Regions from separate parts of the Homo sapiens genome. Here all the other regions are linked to region 3. The links are contacts of gene promoters, found by promoter capture Hi-C in blood cells and fetal thymus (Javierre and others, 2016). All regions are on one chromosome and are shown on one strand. The core of a region is centred on a gene start or on the middle of the fragment in contact, and the rest is flanking DNA. Distances in the headings are between cores, read along the strand shown. Region 1 holds the start of ENPP2 (ectonucleotide pyrophosphatase/phosphodiesterase 2). Region 2 overlaps LOC105375730 (a long non-coding RNA gene). Region 3 holds the start of DSCC1 (DNA replication and sister chromatid cohesion 1).

What was found. Contacts are between HindIII fragments. The CHiCAGO score rates a contact against its expected background, and 5 or more counts as called.
Region 1: a fragment that was not itself captured here is called in contact with the fragment with the promoter of DSCC1 in region 3 in 1 of 17 cell types (fetal thymus); the score reaches 6.9 in fetal thymus.
Region 2: a fragment that was not itself captured here is called in contact with the fragment with the promoter of DSCC1 in region 3 in 14 of 17 cell types (monocytes, fetal thymus, activated CD4 T cells and 11 more); the score reaches 15.0 in monocytes.

The regions. Positions count from the first base shown.
Region 1 is chr8:119,637,308-119,640,386 of GRCh38, forward strand. It overlaps ENPP2 (ectonucleotide pyrophosphatase/phosphodiesterase 2), which reads right to left and starts at 1,532. Exons shown (of 25, transcript NM_001040092.3): 1 at 1,441-1,532; 2 at 1,118-1,220. The coding sequence starts at 1,473. RefSeq lists a silencer at 1,648-1,747. The HindIII fragment of the contact is 849 bases long and covers 1,049-1,897 here.
Region 2 is chr8:120,089,181-120,092,087 of GRCh38, forward strand. The region is part of intron 1 of LOC105375730 (a long non-coding RNA gene); the gene reads left to right. Among named protein-coding and RNA genes, the nearest start is that of COL14A1, 34 kb to the right of the region's middle. The HindIII fragment of the contact is 2,795 bases long and covers 1-2,662 here.
Region 3 is chr8:119,854,098-119,857,266 of GRCh38, forward strand. It overlaps DSCC1 (DNA replication and sister chromatid cohesion 1), which reads right to left and starts at 1,797. Exons shown (of 9, transcript NM_024094.3): 1 at 1,517-1,797. The coding sequence starts at 1,698. LOC105375728 (a long non-coding RNA gene) reads left to right here. Exons shown (of 4, transcript XR_928590.3): 2 at 578-705; 3 at 1,309-1,782. RefSeq lists an enhancer at 1,469-1,778 and a silencer at 1,889-1,948. The HindIII fragment of the contact is 2,867 bases long and covers 1-2,306 here.

The DNA of each region.
Region 1 (3,079 bases), core at 223-2,722, 220 kb before region 3:
GGCTGCAAGTTTTGTGATCTATTTTCTCACTCTTAACCCCGCCACACCCCACTTCAATTCACTAATTCACTTCTAATATTATTCTTTCAACCTACTGGCATGATTCAAAAGTAACTTAATTGATGTAAGGAAGATTTAGTATTCCATCAATGTATGTGTCCTAACCCGGTTGATAATAAAATTTCAAGCTGGCTAAACAGAGGCAAGTGATGGTCTTTCATAACAATCAGATCAAGACATACAGAGAAACACAAAATTCACAGGAAGACAGACAAACATGCTGGAATGTCAGGAAAAGTCCAGAAAATATTGTTCCCTAGAGTGCCCATTACTTAAAATGTAATTTTTTATTTCTAAAACCATCAGCAGCTCCAATTTCCAGGAAATTAACCAACTCATTGCTTAAGACCTGGTCAGTTAAGCCCCCTCTGTCTGCACAAGGAGCTCCTTTATAAGAACACTGTATGGGAACACTACTTATGGTGTAGTGTATTGTAAAAAGAAACTCTTTCACTTTGGTTCTATTATTTAAGTCAAGGTACACTATTAAAACTTACCTTTCCTTTGCCATAAGGACACACAATGAGGACAAATCAATCCTGAAAACTCTTTAAACACCTCCTCTCTTTTATGTTTTTCCAATTTTAAGTAAATCTTAAAGTCCTAAATTTCTGAAGTTTCATAAAGATAGCTCACTGCCTTTTTTACTTCCATTCCTTTTTCCTACATCAGAACTTTCTAGTGGCAAATACTACATCCTATATCATGTGACAGCAAATCAGATTTGGGTAGCTCCAATATTAAACCAACACCTGTTCTCACCACTTCTACTTTAGCCTTGTCTGTGAACAAGAGTTTTAATTGTATCCTAACATTTACAAATTTGAGTACAAAAATGGAAATAGCCAGTTATGAAACAATCATAAATGTTCTCTAATGAAAACCACACTCTCCCACCTGAATTATACACATAGGTGGTTTTACCCAGAGAAATTTAGGACTAACTTAGTTATACTGCAAGATTGTATTAAAAATAAATATTTTAATAAGCTTACATTGATTACCCCGTATGTAATATTTTTAAAAAATTGAAAATGCAAATAGTTTTGACACTTACCTGTAGGAGGACCTTCCTCCCATCCTTCTGCTCTCTTAATTCGATGTGCAGTGAATCCTAAGCAGATATTGACTCCAACGGCAAAAGTGAACAGGGATATTATCTAAGAGAATAAAGAGACCAAGTTGTCAAATACAGCTGGAGAAGACTAAATCAAATTACACAAAGGTGATTCAAATGGCTTCAATATCAACACCCAATCCTACCACTTCCAAAATGCATAATAAGGTGCTATCTTAATTTGCACAACAAAAAGGAAAATGCCAATCAGTCACTGATTCTGAAGATCAAGCATGTCCCCCGTCATTCCTCCGTTCTCCCACCTGACACGACTGGAACGAGCTCCTCCTTGCCATGTCGAGGATTCTTGGAAAGCCTTTTGCAGCGTGTTCTCTTTGCCTTCACGGAGTGCACTGCTTTGAGGCTCTGGGTTTAGTCTATTAACTATAAGCAATCCCACCTGGGAGGTTGACAGACTCCTCTGATTTGTCCAGAGCTTGATTACATCACAGGGTGTTCACAAATCGCAGCTCTGAGCCTAAGAGGCTTAAGCTATCATCCCCCTTATCCCCGCCCCCTTACAGGTCCCTCCCCTAACCCACAGACACTTTCATGTGGTATCCTCTGGCAACAGGAGGGTTTGTTACATTGCCGTGGCCCATAACAGTGCATGTTCATTTTCCTTTCCTCACAAAAACATGGTTTGTCAAAAAGAAACCAAATGCATTTCATCCGATAAAAATGAAAACAGGGCTGTGCAAGGGCTTTCCACCAGCTTTAAGCTTTTAAGGTTTACAATGCAGTCATTCAATGGCGTCAACCTCACCACTTTATTTTTTTAAGCAAGGAAAGTTTTATCATTTATAAACCTAATAACGTTCCTGTCTTTCCCATCTATTTATTTTGCTGGCAGTTTGAGCGACCCTGTCCCTAGTATCACATTCTCAGCTACTTCTGCCTCCTTGAAAGTTTCTCATGATGAAATTTCGCAAAATTGTAACTAACATAAAAGATAACATTATTTTCCCCATGCTGTGGTTCAAGTTTAGAGAAGTAACTTTTATCAAAATACTGGAAATGCCAGCCACGCAGCATAAAGTCCTTCTGCCCTGGGAGGACGGACAAAATAACTTCAGTCTCTGCCTCTTCTTCCCGTAAAGACTGTCAGCTTGTTTCGGGCGGGGCGGAGGAGGGGGCGGTTTTTGAGAGGCAGATGGGTGGGGGAAGGGGATGGCATGGGAAGCTTTATTAGCAATTGAATTTAGGAAGGAAATCTCAATGGCAGCAAGAATTGAAATGTCAAGAATTGTTTCCCTAGTTATTTCTTGGTTAAATGTAGCCACCAAATACTGTGTCCTTTGAGGCTATTGTGGGTACTAAAGTTTCTTTACTAAGCAATTTGGCAACCAGCACACTTTCAAAAGAAAAAATCAAGGGCTCTAAATCTGAAAGTTGTTTAAATATTACATGCCTTCAGGATTCAAATGAGGGAAAAAGATTTGTTTTTGGCCTCTTCCTCAGCAGGTCCAGTGACCATCTTTTCTTCCGCAGCACATGTGTTCGTGCGTAAACAAATACGAGACTTACCATGCAACAAATTAGTAACAGAGTAGTGGCTCTGCTCAAATAAAACATGATAGCACAAAAGCAAAAACTTGTTTATAGGGGGTTGTACAGTAGGCCTGGGTTTCATTACAGATTCTTAGAATCTAGTAATATCTAATTGAAAAAAAGAAAATACACATACTGCCAAACTGTTAATTGCCTTTCTAAAATCCTTTTAGTTTTGCACTGTTGCAAAGAGGACAGGCTTATACATTTTTATATGTAAGCCTCTTGCTTTTGTCTGTATGCCATACTGAACAAATTTGGAGTAGGGTATTTAGCAAGGCTTATAAAAGATGTTAACTCCATGAAAGATTTTCCTATAATTTATGTTAAATTTCAAGATACAAGCCAGAC
Region 2 (2,907 bases), core at 15-2,514, 230 kb after region 3:
TGCCATTAGAAGGGCCGTGTCTGTGCGTGGAACACATGGCCACCCATGCCTGCGCCACAGTGGGCAATGGAAACTCAATTCCAACCCTTCCATTAAAGCTCTTATCTAGTTACCCCTGTCTCTCGTAGGATAGGTTGTTTTACTGCAGGAAAATAATCTCAGTGGCTTAAAACATCAGAAGTTTATTTCTTTTTAACACACATTCAAATCAACCATCAGCTGGGAAGCGCTGTTCTGAGTCGCCCCTTCTCAGGCTGATGGACCAACCGCTAGATGGAGCAACACTGGTCATCGCAACAAAAAGAAAACCCTAGAAACTGGACTGTGCTTTACACAGCTTGTAGCCACCTGCAGTTACTTAGATTTGATTCAAAAGTAATTAAAATCAAAGAAAATGGAAATTTCAGTCCCTTCTTTGCACAAGCTGCATTTCAAGTGCCTGATAATTTTTTCCACTTGTGGCTACTGGCTACTATATTTTGTAGTGTGGATTATGGAACATTCCCATCATCACGTTGGTCTTGACCTATCTGGTCTCTCACACTGTCCTGACTCAGAAATAACACATGTTTACTTCCACTCAGAATTCACTGGCCAAAATTGAGGGATTGAGAGGCTGACATTTTTGAAAGACTGTCCTAAAACTGAAGATAACAGAAGTTAAAGAAAACATAAACATAAAAACATTCTTTTTAAAAATTATTTTTCTGACCTAGTGGTATAACTTGTTTCTTTCCTCTACTCTCTCTTTTGCTAGTGAAATCCTACAGGGCTGGCAGAAATTTATAGATGCGTTGCCCCTAAGAAACCTTTACATGATTCAAACTGTCATACTTGCTCTTGTCATTGTGCATGTAGAGCTAGACTGACTGAGTTTTGAATCCTAATTCCTAACATGAAGTAGCTTTAAATTAAGGTTTTGCTCAAGCAACTTAACCTTTCTGAACCCCAGTTTTTTTTTTTAGTAAAATGAATCTAATAAAAATATTTCTCACATATTTACTTTAACCTTATATATAAAATTAGAATACCTGGCTGTATCAGGCAGCCAGTAACTAACTGTTAGCTACTATTGCTGTTATCACAAAGAAATTTATTTCCTTGTCCATTCATTCCAAGTCAAAGAGTTCTATCTCTGCTGGGCCAAATAAGGCCATTTTACTATGTCTTAATGATACATCATTTTACACCTATTCATTATGTATGTATATATATTTGATTACATATATAATTGATTTTTAATAATATGTAGCATTCCACTGTGAGACCGAGATACATTTATTTAATTTCATTTCATATTTATTTCATTATAATTGGCAATTATTAAGAAGCCCGACAAAACCGACCTTTAGAAAGATGTTATCATCAAAATCTCTTACATCTCTTATAAATTGCTGGAGGAAGAATAAATTGGCACAATCACACTGGAAAGGAGTTTGGCAGTATCTCATGAGGTTGAATATTCCTAACCCCTATGAACCAGCATTCCCATTCCTGTACTGGCATCACTATTCACAAGAAAAAAAAAGGACAACAATCTGAAACCCATTGCTTAGATAATGAGAACATAGATGCAATTCAGTCCCACAAATAATGCTATGTATCATTGAAAATCAATTATAACTACATGTATTGATAGGAATAAATCCTTCAATATTGAATTAAAAAATGAGTTCAAAATAACTAAAACTAAAAATACAGCATGTATATGTATCTACTTATGTATATGTGTATGTATATTTATGTACATATCCATGAGTGTAGATATATATTTGTAATTTATTATCAGTATTCTAGTTCTCAGCTTGGTGATAAGTTCACAGGTATCATTTTATCATATTACATCATAGTAAGAAAAAGTGAGGCCGGGCGTGGTGGCTCACACCTGTAATCCCAACATTTTGGGAGGCTGAGGCAGGTGGATCACTTTAGGTCAGGAGTTCGAGACCAACCTGGCCTACATGGTGAAACCCCATCTCTACTAAAAATACAAAATTAGCCAGGTGTTGTGACACACACCTGTAATCGCAGCTACTCTGAAGAAGGTGGGAGAATCACTTGAACCCCGGACGAGGAGGTTGCAGTGAGCCAAGACCACACCACTGCACTCCAGCCTGGGTGACAGAGCGAGACTCCCCCTCAAAAAAAAAAAAAAAAAAGAAAAGAAAAAAGTGAACATGTACGGAACAATGATAGTAGTGTGTCATGAACTAAGGGTTGAGACGAGTCCAGTGAGAGCACTTGAGGTGCACTGAGCCCCAGACCTTTCACGCTTTCTTACTACTATCCTCAGTCACCTCTAATTTTCTCTCTCCTAGTGGTACCTCACCTCGGCCAGGTTGGTCTTCCATTTTGAGACTGGGATGAAACACCACAAAACAGGGCAGGTGATATGGTTTGGATGTTTTGTCCCCTCCAAATGTCATGTTGAAATGTGACATCCAATGTTGGAGGGGAGCCTGGTGAGAGGTGTTTGGGTCATGGGGGCGGGTTCCTCATGAATGTCTTGGTGTGGTCCTCGCAATAATGAGGTGAGTTCTCACTCCATGAGTTCATGTGAGATCTGATTGTTTAAGAGAGCCTGGCAGCTCCTCCCTCTCTCTTGCTCTCTCTCTTGCCATGTGACACTCTGGTTCCCCTTTCACCTTCCACCATGATTGTAAGCTTCCTGAGACCCTCACCAGAAGCAGATGCTAGCACCATGCTGCCTGTACAGCCTGCAGAACCATAAGCCAAAATAAATGTTTTTTCCTTTATAAATTGCCTGGTCTCAGCTATTCCTTTATAGTAACACAAACGGACTAATCCAGCAGGGCTCTGACTTCCTCAGCAACTGCCAAGGGGTTAGACACAACACAGAAGTACAGAGGAGTTAGCTTCTTACAGAGTGAAACATAACCAATGGGA
Region 3 (3,169 bases), core at 547-3,046:
CAGCTACTCAGGAGGCTGGTGGGAGGATCGCCTGACCCCAAGTAGTCATGGCACCATCATGCAGAGAGCCGTGATTGTGCCACTGCACTCCAGCCTGGCTGACAGAGTGAGACCCTGTTCCCACCACTCTCTCCCCAAAAAAAAGATAAAGAAAAAAGAAGGAAGAGGAAAGGATGAAGGTGAAGCGGAGGAAAAGGAAGGATTAAAGACAAAGATGATGGCAATGACAGGGGAGTTGGTTCTAGCAGTTTTCCTTGTCTGTAAAGCATTTAATTCTCCTGTGCACAACTCGTTTCTTTTGAATAAATAATAAGAAACCTGAAATAGCAGACTGTGTATTTATTTTTGACTAAGTCTTCATTTAAGTAAAAAGAATAAAAGGTTTTTTAGATTCCTAATGCTAATAATGCTTAATAGGCCCAAGTACCTAGTCTTTAACATTTATTTCTCTAACTGCACTACCCCCACTTTGAAATATTTTGTTTATACCATCACTCCCTACACCCCAAAATTAAAAACACACGTTTCCAGGGCCTGTTTTTATTTTTTTGTTTTTGTTTTGTTTTGTTTTTGCCAGCTAGATTAACTAGAACTGGACCGAGAGAAAGTCCTCACACCTGAGTTCCTTTCTCAACTCTCCACCAACTGAACCGGGATGGAAACAGACTAGTGAAGTTCTTTCAGTTCCCTTAAAGGTACTTTGAGGTATATAGCAGGTATCTGAAGAATGGCCAGTTTACTCTAACACTCTTTGGTGGGCAAAGTACGAAAACTGAAAGACAGCCTAAAGGATTCCATTAAGAAAAAAGAGAAAAAATAGCCTAATAAAATATAGGTGTCGGAGGACCAATTGTGCAAAAGAGAATCAAGCTGGAGCTCCCTATTTTGCAGGAGCTGGGGCTGCACAGGGTGGAGGGATATAACGATTCTCTAGACTTCTCAAGACTGCCTTTAAAAAACTACCTCAACTTCGACTTCTAATCAATGATCTTGCAGCAAGTTTGTATCTGACCTGGAATTAGAAACAGCTTCAGATCCCTACTAAGCAAGTTTGCTTCGGGGTGGGTAGGGGTCTCACCCAATTACCAAGTCTGTAAGCTGATTCCCAGCACTTCCTATCTATCATCTGAGTAAAATAAATATAAGTGGAAGGCAAGAGTTCTATAAACATTGGGTATCACCACTGTATTTTAAGGTAGAGTGACAGGTGTCCTGTAGAGTCCCTGTAATCACCGGTAACTCTTCAAAAACTTCACGGAGGTTGTATTAGTATTTCCTGACTTGCTCCCGCTGACACATGCCTCCAAGGTCAGCTGGACCAGTGCTACTCATCACCGCAGTGCAGCTAACTGGACGGCCCACCGGAGGCGTGGACTCCTCGGGAACAGGCAGCTTGCTATGAGCCCCCGGCCAGGTCAGTGCATCTCTCTGGCCCTGTTTTCTTATCCCGACTTTCCCCGCTGAGAAAATAACGTGGCCGGCCAGAGGCTGGGGGCGCCGCGTGACCAGGGCTCACCTGTGTCCATCCTCCAGCTGCTGGCACAGCGTGGGCTCCAGCTCCAGCAGGCAGAAGTCGCCGGCTGCAGCGCCGCTGGCCCCAGGGCCGAAGCCCAGGCAGTGCACCGCCGGCAGCAGCTCGGCCGCATTCAGCTTGGCGATCTGCAGCGTCGCATCCACCTCGTCGCGGGTCCTCTTCATCGCAGCGCCGGGTCTAGGAGTCCCGCCGCGCCCGGGTGGCTGCGGGCTTGGCGGGCAAGAAAGAAGTTCCCAAGCAGCCGGAAGGTAGGAAACCTGAGCGTTTGAAAGCGCGCCAAGGCGGCCATGGGCGTGTTTCCGGGGCGGAGCGCGCTGCGGGCCCGCCCGCGGGAAGGCCTGCCGGCTTCTGGGAGCGCGAGCCCCTCCGTGCCCCACGCCGGACCGCGACTGCAGGAAGGAAACGCGGCTTCCCGGGGGGCGGTCTCGGCGGAAGCTCGCAGGGGCAGAGCTGCGACTCGGCGGGTTGGGACACGGATCCCTCGCCCACCCTTTCCGCTGTCCCCTTGCCCGCCCCCCATCCCCGATCTCCGTCCCTGGTTTCCAGCCGATGCTCCCATTTCCTCGCCGTCCACATTGTCTCACCTTCCGCCAGTGGCGGGCCCTGTGATAACCACTTGGCATGTATAATTCCATGAGCCCGTTGCCACAACCCTGTAAGGTGGTGCCTTGGTCATTCCCTTTTGCCAATGAGGAAGCAGGCTCCTTGCTCGTGATGGCAGAGTCAGGAGGTAACAGAGTCTGACTCCAGCCTAGCCGACTGTGGCTCTAAAAGCTTCCTGCGGGGTTTTGTGCAAATAACCCATGCTCGGGAGCGAGGCCCTGGGAAGGAGTATCTCGCTTCTTTGGGTCAGGGCACCATCATATCTGGAGACAACGGCGGGACTAGTCTATTCGTTGAATACCTAGTGTTAACCGAAAAGTGACTGATGCAGGTCTCGTTCAATAGAGGTTTATTTAAGCAAGGTTGAGGACGCACCCGAAGGGAAAAACAAGTCACAGGAGCATCTGTGACTTGTACATTTTCCAAAGGTTTGGGGAACTTCAGTATTAAGAGTTTTAAGAGAAAAGGTTTTCACTATGCACACATACATGAATTGCTTGTAACAGCGTAATGTGTAAACTTTCCCAGAGATGCTTAGGGAATCGTTGAGGGCCCTGGCTGTCCCTGAGAGCTAAAATAGTCTGGGAGGAATCACTTAAGAGATGGTGACCTCCTACTAGTTAGTGCAAATCAGACCTTGCTTGAAGTGAAAGAAAGTGGTGGGTAAGGTGTTGAATTCAAAGGATCTGAGCAGACATTTTTTTCAATTCTTGGGTAAAATGATACGAAAATACCAGAGTAGGGCATCCCAGGAGTCTGGGCAGTGCTTTCGTTGGTGGTGGAAAGATTGGTTCATGTGACCTACTTCTTCACTAGCCTCTTTTACATTTGAATGCATAGGAATTCGGTGGAATGAAATCCTGAATGTGACAGTGGTTGCCTGATAAGAAGTTATTATTGAAGGGAATCAACCATTGTAGTTGCTCTATTAAATGGGAAACATTCCCTACAACTAGAAGCAGTGTCAACTAGAACCCTGACATTTACATCAGACAGGCATGGCTGCGAATCCCAACTCTCTTCAGAACTTTG